2 separate regions of the Homo sapiens genome follow, and region 1 is linked to region 2. The links are contacts of gene promoters, found by promoter capture Hi-C in blood cells and fetal thymus (Javierre and others, 2016). All regions are on one chromosome and are shown on one strand. Each heading gives the region's core, a stretch centred on a gene start or on the middle of the fragment in contact. The rest is flanking DNA. Distances are from core to core; before and after follow the strand shown. Region 1 holds the start of ACTL9 (actin like 9). Region 2 holds the start of HNRNPM (heterogeneous nuclear ribonucleoprotein M).

The links. The method cuts DNA at HindIII sites, captures the fragments that hold promoters and counts their contacts. A CHiCAGO score of 5 or more calls a contact.
Region 1: the fragment with the promoter of ACTL9 here is called in contact with the fragment with the promoter of HNRNPM in region 2 in 10 of 17 cell types (naive CD8 T cells, naive CD4 T cells, M2 macrophages and 7 more); the score reaches 12.8 in naive CD8 T cells.

The regions. Positions count from the first base shown.
Region 1 is chr19:8,696,864-8,702,292 of GRCh38, reverse strand. ACTL9 (actin like 9) reads left to right here and starts at 3,498. Exons shown (of 1, transcript NM_178525.5): 1 at 3,498-4,893. The coding sequence starts at 3,592. The coding sequence ends at 4,842. The HindIII fragment of the contact is 13,278 bases long and covers 3,255-5,429 here.
Region 2 is chr19:8,443,612-8,449,076 of GRCh38, reverse strand. It overlaps HNRNPM (heterogeneous nuclear ribonucleoprotein M), which reads right to left and starts at 4,102. Exons shown (of 16, transcript NM_005968.5): 1 at 3,966-4,102. The coding sequence starts at 4,078. RefSeq lists silencers at 3,594-3,823, 4,064-4,343. The HindIII fragment of the contact is 1,747 bases long and covers 2,714-4,460 here.

The DNA.
Region 1 (5,429 bases), core at 2,249-4,748, 250 kb before region 2:
AGAACAGAATAAAAAGACGGTGAATACAGCATTTCTTTTGCCTAGAAAGGACAGAATAAAAAGACGATGAATACAGCATTCCTTTTTGTTCTCCAGGGTTTGTGACAAGACTGCTCAAGAAATCAGTGGTTCTCGGCACTAAAGGCACAGCAGGCTGACCTAGGAAGTTTTTTTGGTTTTTTGTTTTTTTTTTTTTGAGACAGAATCTCGCTCTGTCGCCCAGGCTGGAGTGCAGTGGCGCGATCTCAGCTCACTGCAACCTCCGCCTCCCGGGTTCAAGCAATTATCCTGCCTCAGCCTCCCGAGTAGCCGGGATTACAGGCATGTGCCACCACGCCCAGCTAATTTTTGTGTTTTTAGTAGAGACGGGGTTTCTCCATGTTGGTCAGACTGATCTCCAACTCCTGACCTCCAGGTGATCCACCCACCACAGCCTCCCAAAGTGCTGGGATTACAGGCGTGAGCCACCGCGTCCAGCCAGTACTTATCATTGATGTAACAAACCCTCACATAGCACTTACTATGTGTGAACCACTGACCTAAACACTAGAAAACAATAACTTGCCCATCCTCATAGCTGCACTTTGAAGGTGGCACTATTATTACTCCCATTTTGCAAATGGGGATACTGAGTCACAGTTAGTAGTTTGCCTCAGCTATTAAGCAGAGGAGTCAGGGCTTAAATTCCAGAAGCCTGGCCCCGGATCTGTGGCCTTAGGCACATCATGGCTTTGTTGCCTATAATCACGATATTTTCCTATATTGTTGCTTCAGTATCTCAGAAGCTAGCATCTATTAAGTGCCAGACAAGGTATCCTCATTTTATCCAAGAAGAGAGGAAATGGAGGCTCACAGAGTCCCAACCTTTGTTTCTGTTCTATTTTTAGTGGGTTTTTCTTGTTTGTTTGTATGTTTGTTTGTTTGTTTGTTCCTTGAGACAGGGTCTCGCTCTGTCACCCAGGCTGGGTGCAGTGGTGTGATCTTGGCTCACTGCAGCCTCCAACTCCTGGGCTCAGGTGATCCTCCCACCTCAGCATCCCTAGTATCTCGGACTACAGATGTGAGCCACCATGCCTGGCTGTTTTGGGTGGATCTTAGATTTCACAATTTCCCAGACTCACAGTCAGCCACTGAAGTAAGTCAAAGATGTAGGCTCAACTCCTGCCTCTGTCTCATACCAGTTGTGACTTTGAACAATCACTTGACCTCTCTGAGCTTCTTTTCCATCAAAAAAATAGACATAGTACCCATTCCTAAGTCATAAAGTTGCCATAAGAAGTTGCCATGTTTTAAAATCAGAAAATGAAGAAAGGCCAGGCATGGTGGCTAATCCCTGTCATCCCAGCACTTTGGGAGGTTAAGACAGGAGGATCACTTGAGCCCAGGAGCTCAAGATCAGCCTGGGCAACATAGCAAGACCCCATTTCTACAAAAAATTAAAAACTTATCCGGAGATAGTAGCACATGCCTATAGTCCCAGCTACTTTGGAGGCTGAAGTGGGAGGATTGCTTGAGACCACGAGGTTAAGGAGGCTGCAGTGAGCAGTGATTGCACCACTACACTCCAGCCTGGACAATATAGCAAGACCCAGTCTCAAAAAAAAATTGAAAACAATAAAGTGTTATCACTTAGTGTATTTCTGGTTGTTGTGAACAGTCCAAAAAACAGACCCTCAATAAATTGCTGAGTAAATATTTCCAAAAGCATGGATTAGACCACACATACCAGTAAATCAATAATTAATTAAAATGCTCAATAAACCACACTCTGGCAGAGTAATAAATCTAGACACAACTAGAAAATTAAACCTCTTTCATTTAGATATCCCATAAGACATTCACTAGCACTATTCCTGGTGATTTCTACCACCACATGCATGAACATACACTAAGAAAAACGTTTTTATTTGCTTTAACTAACAGGTGATATCTGATATCACCAAAAACAGCCATGGTCTTGAAGCAACTCTCCTAATGCATTTTGAAGCCTGCTATTTATTGTTGAGATAATTCCTTCCTCCCAAATGCACCCTCTCCCCTTTTATCTATACTGAAACCCCTTCTTGTATCTCACTGAGCCCCTCTCCTGCCAGGAGGAAGCAGGTAACAACCCCTGGAGAGAAGGCAGACTTCCCCCATCCCTCATCTAGTTGGAGTACAGAGTAGAAATCAGGGTTGGCTTCCAGGAGGAGGTGGCATCAGACTGAGATTTGAAGAGGCAAATTCCTTCTTGGCAGGAATGGGACAGGGAGAATGATTCAGGCAGTGAATATAGCAGAGGAAGCAAAGAATCTAGGACAGGGGTGTTCCTGTCTCTCCCTGCCTCTCTCCATCCCCAACCAAGGCTGGCCTCTGTCTCCATTTGGAAACCAGGAAGCCATGCTAGCCCGCCCCACCTTCTAATTAATATTCTGAGGAGGAATATTCTAATATTCTAGGGAGGCCTGTGGCAAGCTCTCTGCCACTAGGCTGTAAATAGCTTCATGGCGAGGTACCCAGAGGAGGATTCCTGGGTCTTCCTGAAAGCGTGGCCCAAAGAGTTAGAGAAACCAATTTTGCATGTTTTTAGTGAAACCATGCCCCAAAGAAATGTTTGAGCTTGCAGAATGGCAGATCAAAAAAGAAACAACTTGCTGAAATGCCTTCCACTTATGAGGGTTTTTTGTTTGTTTCTTTGTTTGTTTGTTTGTTTGTTTTGAGATGAGTCTCGCTCTGTCATACAGGCTGGAGTGCAGTAGCATGATCTTGGCTCGCTGCAACCTCCACCTCCCGGGTTCAAGAGATTCTCCTGCCTCAGCCTCCCTAGTAGCTGGGACTACAGGCATGTGCCACCATGCCTGGCTAATTTTTTTTCTTTTATTTTCTTTTTCTTTTGAGACAGAGTCTCACTCCATCCCCCAGCCTGGAGTGCGGTGGCATGATCTTGGTTCACTTCAACCTCCACCTCCTGGGTTCAAGTGATTCTCCTGCCTCAGCCTCCCCAGTAGCTGGGACCACAGGCATGCGCCACCATGCCAGGCTAATTTTTGTATTTTTTGGTAGAGACGGGTTTCACCATGTTGGCCAGGCTGGTCTCGAACTCCTGACCTCAGGTGATCTCCCACCTCGGTCTCCCAAAGTGCTGGGATTACAGGTGTGAGCCACAGCCCCCGGCCCCAGAACTTTTCTAATAAAATTACTGCCTTAAAGCCAGCTGAGAAACAGACTTGTGCTGGATTCCTAGCTCCCAGTGGGTTGACATGCAACAAAAAGCTTGTCTTTTCTCAAAAACCAGGTGCCATCGTATTAGCTTCTAGCGCATCCGACAGAAATGTGTTAAGAGGGCCCTGCTCTGAGATGCTCATCTCCTCCTCCAAATTTGGCTCTTCAGAGAAGAGATGACAGCCTTTGGGCAGGCAGGGCTGGGCAGGGACCCATCCTCTTGGCTGCATTGTGATGTCTTAAGAAGACTGAAGGGGCACCGTGACGTCATAGATTGCGGGCCCACCCCTCCCCCTGTCTGCCTGCCCTCCCCACTGGCCGGGCCTCAACCTCTTCTCCCCGCAACCCCAACCCCAGAGGAAAAGCCCCCTCACCTGGCGTCCCGCAACCATGGATGCAAGTCGCCCCAAGTCCTCGGAATCCCAGTCCTCCCTGGAGGCCCCCAGGCCCGGCCCAAACCCCAGTCCCAACGTGGTGAACAAGCCCCTGCAGCGGGACTCCCCCGGCATGGTGGCCGACAGGCTGCCACCAAAGACCGGCGCGGTGGTTATTGACATGGGCACAGGCACCTGTAAGGTAGGTTTTGCTGGGCAGGCCAGCCCCACCTACACCGTGGCCACCATCCTGGGCTGCCAGCCCAAGAAACCCGCCACCTCGGGGCAGTCCGGGCTGCAGACGTTCATCGGCGAGGCAGCCCGCGTGCTCCCAGAGCTGACGCTGGTGCAACCCCTGCGCAGCGGCATCGTCGTGGACTGGGATGCCGCCGAGCTCATCTGGCGCCACCTGCTGGAGCACGACCTCCGAGTGGCCACCCACGACCACCCGCTGCTGTTCTCCGACCCACCCTTCAGCCCGGCCACCAACCGCGAGAAGCTAGTGGAGGTGGCCTTCGAGTCGCTGCGCTCCCCAGCCATGTACGTGGCATCGCAGTCGGTGCTGTCTGTCTACGCCCACGGTCGTGTCAGCGGGCTGGTGGTGGACACGGGACACGGGGTCACCTACACAGTGCCCGTCTTCCAGGGCTACAACCTGCTCCACGCCACGGAGCGTCTGGACCTGGCGGGCAACAACCTGACCGCCTTCCTGGCGGAGATGCTGCTCCAGGCCGGCCTGCCCCTGGGACAGCAGGACCTGGACCTAGTGGAGAACATTAAGCACCACTATTGCTACGTGGCCTCCGACTTCCAGAAGGAGCAGGCCCGGCCGGAGCAGGAGTACAAGCGGACTCTGAAGCTGCCCGATGGGCGCACGGTCACCCTGGGCAAGGAGCTGTTCCAGTGTCCGGAGCTGCTGTTCAACCCCCCAGAGGTCCCGGGGCTGTCACCCGTCGGCCTCTCCACCATGGCCAAGCAGAGTCTCCGCAAGTTGTCACTGGAGATGCGCGCGGACTTGGCCCAAAACGTGCTTCTCTGCGGTGGGTCCTCGCTCTTCACCGGCTTCGAGGGTCGCTTCCGGGCAGAGCTGCTGCGCGCTCTGCCAGCCGAGACCCACGTGGTGGTGGCTGCCCAGCCCACCAGGAATTTCTCCGTATGGATCGGGGGCTCCATCCTGGCCTCCCTGCGCGCCTTCCAGTCCTGCTGGGTCCTGCGGGAGCAGTACGAGGAACAGGGTCCCTATATCGTGTACCGCAAATGCTACTGACCAGGGCAGAGCTGGGGAGGGCGTGGGGGCAGTAAAGCCTCTGCTACAGCCGGCTCTGTCCTGTCCTTCCTCCAGGGCCTGCCCCATCCACTCCTGGGCACCTCGCCCCACAGGCTGACCTAACTCACCTCCTGTGATGCATGCCCTGAGACACCCCAATCCTGACCCCCTAAACCCACCTTCCCCATGAATAACTCCCAACAGACCACTAAGTTCTAATCCTGTCAACCCATCCTCCTGTGATCTGTGCCCCTCCCCAGGCACCCTTGGGTTGGGACACCCCCTCCCCAGACCACCTCTGACAAGTGCCCTTCCCATTTACACACTCCCAGAGATGGGGAGTTCACTACCTCAAGGCTATTGTTAGAAATATCACCTCCTCCTATGAGTCATAGATAAGCCTCCACCTGGCACCTGCCCCCAACCCCAAACATGAAGAACATGAAAGCCTCTGACCACCCACCCCATGCCCACACACACCCCTAGGGTCTGCCACATACCCAAGCCACATACCCAATTCCTTCCATTTCTAGTTTAAGTGATTCATGCATTGATCCCACATACATTCATTAATTACCCACTATGTG
Region 2 (5,465 bases), core at 2,853-5,352:
TGTATAGAGAATCTGATTTAAATAAAACAATTCAAACGGCTGTTTACTGAGTGGTTACCAAGGTAGTATCATGAAAGCAGCAAGCTGCCTGGGAGTCAGGAGGGCCTCCCCTGGAGTCTTTAGGTCAGGTTCCTGAACCTGGGTTTAAGTGTTTAAAACGAAAGTTTTCTTGATTGTCAAATGGAGTCAACTCTAACAGTACCTCCTCAGGAATCTACCCTAAATATATATTTTTATTTTTATAAATAACCAATCCATCTGTTTCTTATTCACCCACAAAATTACTCAGGAAGGGGCCAGGTGTGGTAGCTCACGCCTATAATCCCAGCACTTTGGGAGGCCAAGACGGGCGGATAACGACGTCAGGAGATCGAGACCATCCTGGCTAACAGAGTGAAACCCCATCTCTACTAAAAAAAAATATTAAAAAAATTAGCCAGGCATGGTGGCGGGCGCCTGTAGTCCCAGCTACTCGTGAGGCTGAGGCAGGAGAATGGCGTGAACCCGGGAAGCGGTTCACGGAGCTTGCAGTGAGCTGAGATCGCGCCACTGCACTCCAGCCTGGGCAACAGAGCGAGACTCCATCTCAAAAAAAAAAAAAAATTACTCAGGAAGGGGAGCAGGTTAAGTCATTTATTTTATATATGATACTACATTTAAAAAAATTTTAAAAACCTATACATTCCCCTAAAATGAACTTTTTTTTCCCTGACTATACCCTAACTCTGAATCTTTGCTGACTTTAATTGGAACAGACTTCTCATCAAAATTAAGCAAATCCTATTCTCACACCCAGGAGAGAAGTAACTGCAAAACAAGATTTCCAACCTGGGTTCCCAGATCAAGCTTGCTAGCTCACTGCATTTGTGGTCTACTGCACACTCCACTCCTGGTAGAGAAAGAATTCCAAAGAACCAAGTTTCTATTTTTCTCCTGTCTCTCAAAGGCTTTCAAGATAAAAATCCAAATTCACTGCCCATCAGCTGGCTGCCAGTGCTCCAACCTTAAAACTCTATAGCAACTTCAGTGTTCTTGTTTGTTTGTTTGTTTGAAGAAGGAGTATCGCTCTGTCGCCCAGGCTGGAGTGCAGTGGCCCAATCTCGGCTCACTGCAAGCTCTGCCTCCCAGGTTCACGCCATTCTCCTGCCTCAGCCTCCCCAGTGGCTGAGACTACAGGAGCCCGGCACCACGCCCGGCTAATTTTTTGTATTTTTAGTAGAGACGGGGTTTCACCGTGTTAGCCAGGATGGTCTCTATCTCCTGACCTCGTGATCTGCCCGCCTCGGCCTCCCAAAGTGCTGAGATTACAGGCGTGAGCCGCCGGGCCCAGCCTGTTTTGTTTTTTCTTTTTTTTGGTAGAGACAGGGTTTCACCATGTTGCCCAGGCTGGTCTTGAACTCCTGAGCTCAAATAGTCCTCTCACCTCAGCCTCCCAAAGTGCTGGGATTACAGGTGTGAGCCACTACACCCAGCACAACTTCAGTTCTCGATAAAGCATACACTCAAATCTCTGCTCTTTGGATACTCTCTTCCCTGCCCCTCCCCAACCATCTTCTTCTCCTCCACTTCCACACGTCTTCCTGTCATGGAGGAACAGGTCCCTGCCCCCAGCAGGTGGCGGAGGTCACCTCCTCCATTCTTTCTACCAAGCAACTCCACTAACTTCTATCACAGCATAATTACCTTATGTTATGGTAATTACATAACATACATAACATACAAATATGTTAATGGCCTCTCCACTCTGCATGGAGTGCAAAAGTATAGGCTTCTAAAGAGATTTCCTTAAGACTTGTAATGAAAAAAAAAAAAAAAAGTTTTCCACAGGCCCTATCAAAAATATCCAAGTGTTGCCAGCTTCCTAAACTATCCTCTATGAAGCTAGTACTAGACTTTGAGACTTTGAGCCTCTTTCTCACAACGGCTATTTTATTCTACAATTTTCAGGTTCCAACAGTCCACATGTATTTGTAAAATGACTCAGTCACAAAATGACTATTTGAAAATGGACAGGGGAAAAGGGAAAATTTGTAATCTATTAATTTACCCTATCATCTAGCAAGGTTCTACCAGCACTCCTTCCTGCATACGGTAAATAAATTTATCTTAAAGCCCTCCAAATACCACCCTCAGAAATCCTACCAGCTTCCGTAGATAGACGCTGAAAAAGTCAAAATTAACACATTCCTTCCCAGAGTTTTCAATAGTAAAATGCTGGGAATAGAGGAAGTTTTTCTCATTTCTAAGGGCCAGTAACCATGGTATTTTATTTCTCCCTACTTAAGGAGGGAAAGAATCTGGAATTTTCTCCGGATTTATTATCTACCAATATAGCTAGCACTTAGGGAACGTTCTTAACCTAAGCGCTCAACTAGGCAGGGCGCAGTAGCTCATGCCTGTAACTTCAGCACTTTGGAAGGCCTAGGCAGGAGGATGGCTTGAACCCAGGAGTTTCAGACCAGCCTGGGCAACACCCGGAGACCTCCTCTCTTCAAAAAATTAGCCGGGCATGGTGGTGCCGCGCCTGTGATCCCAGCTACTCAGGAGGCTGAGATGGAAGGATCGATTGAGCCCAGGAGTTCGAGGCTGCAGTGATCTGTGATCGTGCCACTGCATCCCAGCTTGGGTAACAGAGGGAGACCCTGTCTCAAAGAAAAAAATTAAATATATAAGTGCTCAACCGCATTCACTTTTAATCTCCATAAACTAAGCTTCACACATTACAATATGAGGAAGGCAAAGTCACAGACAGAAAGGAAAGAAAACGGAGGGAGTTAGTATTTAATAGCTACACTTTCTGTTTCCGATGATGAAAAAGTTCTGGACATGAAGCAGTGACGGTTACAGCACACTGAGTCAGTATACTCAATGCCACTGAATTATACGCTTAAAAAATGGTTAAAATGGCAAAGTCTACGTTATGTCTATTTTACCACAATGAAATAAATGTCTGGGAAATTCAATGTGTACCCAGGCTTCCCCTTCCTTCCCGGCCGCTGATCTTGGAGCCAAAACCTCTCTGTCTCTCTTAAGTGTCTGTAATCAGAATGAATGAGTTTCACCGGGGCACAAGTCGATGCTTCCTCCTTTAAAGAAACTTTTAAAAGCCAAGGAGTCAAAGAGCCCCAAGCAGGACTCGAAAAGCTGATGAAGTCTGGAAGTAAATGAACCCGCCTCCTGACAGAACAGCTTCCCCGAAACACGGGAAAAAGGGGATTCCTCCCCCGACTTCGTATCTGTCTGCTTCCGAGGGTGAACGCTAAGCAGCAGATCCCATCTCTCCACTAATACCTGCGGCGCACCCGGGGAGGAGGAGCGGGAAACGGCGAGGGACTTGAGCCAGGGCCAGAGCGTGGGGCGAGGGGCGGTTCCGAGGGAGGCACTTCCCGCGGAGCGCGGTCGGCGCGCGGGGACTAAGGGGCGGGGCAGGAGGGGAGCCCCCCGACCCGGCTTCGCGGCCCTTCCTGACGCTTCCCTCGCTCGGTTACCGTTGACTCGGGCTGACTGCGCGCGAGGCCTCCCGGGCGCGCACCCTCTCTCCTCCCCCCACGTTACGGATCAGAAAACAGACCCCGGGAGGAGAGGGGACGGGGGGCTGAAACCCGGCCCCCGAGGTCACCCTCCCGGGGAGCGGTCGGGTAGGCCTCGGAGGCTCTCCGGTCCGGGCCCGCGCCATCAACCCCCATGCGCAGCAGCTGGGCCTGAGGCCTCGACTACGGGGTTGGCCCCGGCCTGGAGGGACTGAGGGTGGCGAGGCTCGAGGCCCGGTGTAGGGGACGATTCTGGAGGCTCCCCCGGCTCCCCGCTCACGGCCCTAGACGCCGCTACCCTGAGCAGGCGGTACGGGAACAGCCGGGGCCGAGGCCGCGCCGGGGCTAGGCCGCCAACAGACCTAACGGAGCCGCCGCCCGCGTCGGCCGCGGAGAGGAACCCTTACCCGTGGCAAAGGACCGTGGGATACTCACCCCTTAGGGCCCGGAGCCCCGTTGCCGCTCGGCACGCCGGGCGCGCCGCTCTCTTCCTCCATTTTGATCTCCGTCGCCGCCACCTCCGCCGCCGCTTCGACCCCTGCCGCCATTTTCTCCGCGTCTGGGCTTTGTGTGAGCGAACGGGCTGCACCGCGCTGCGCCTGCGCGCCCACGTGACCCGACGCAACCAGTAACACCTGCGCCCGCCGCTCCCGGCTGCCTCCTTGGCCCCACTCGCCCCGGGCCACGCCCCCGCCGCGCGCAGGCGCAGACCGGCAGCTGTTGATCGCTTCTCTCTCGAGATACACTCGCGTTAGGCACCGACTGGCTGTTCCCGGCGCGCGTCCTCTGAGTCCGATAGAGGAGGCATCTCCCCACCCCACCCCACACAAACACCTAGACCTAGTCACTCTCAGCTTTCTGTAACCAGAGCTGGAGCAGAGGGGAAGCAATGATCCTGTCTAGAGATTCCTGGAAGTTTTAGATGAAGCTTGTTCAACCCGCGGTCCGGCACACGATTCGTAAACTTTCTTAAAACATTGTGTCTTTTTGTGTGATTTTTTTCTTTTTGTAACGCAATTGCGCGGTTCTCCAGCGCGAACTTTGTAGGCAACAACGGAACGGCATGGAATAATATCAGAGTATTATCCGTAATTCGCATTATAATTGCAAACAGTTCGTCCAGAAGAAACGGAAAACTGTTAAAATTCACTAATAATGGGGCCAGGCGCGATGGCTCACTCCTGTAATCCCAGCACTTTGGGTATGGGAGGCCGAGGCGGCGGATCACCTGAGGTCAGGAGTTCGAGACCAGACTGGCCAACATGGTGAAACCGCGTCTCTACTAAAAATAAAAAAATTAGCTGGACGTGGTGGCGGGCGCCTGTAATCCCAGCTACTCGGGAGGCTGAAGCAGGAGAATCGCTTGAACCCAGGAGCCGGAGGTTGCAGTGAGCCGAGATCACGCCACTGCACCGCAGCCTGGGAGATAGACTGAGACTCCATCTCAAAAAACAAAAAGATAAGTATTGAGTACTGGGCTTAATACCTGGGTGATGAAATAATCTGTACAACAAACCTCCATGACAAGTGTTTACCTATTTAACAAACCTTCACATTTACCCCCAAACCTAAAAGTTAAAAACAAAATTAAAAAAAAAATTAATGGCTGGGCGCGGCAGCTCACGCCTGTAATCCTACCACTTTGAGAGGCCAAGGCGGGTGGATCACGAGGTCAAGAGATCAGACCATCCTGGCCAACATGATGAAACCCTGTCTCTACTAAAAATACAAAAATTAGCCGGGTGTGGTGGCAGGCGCCCATAATCCCAGCTACTGGGGAGCCTGAGGCAGGAGAATCGCTTCAACCCAGGAGGAGGAGGTTGCAGTGAGCCAAGATCGGGCCACTGCACTCCAGCCTGGTCACAGAGTGAGACCCCATCTCAAAAAAATTAAAAATAATAATAAAGAGCGAGAGGACTCTTGCAATGTTGCATA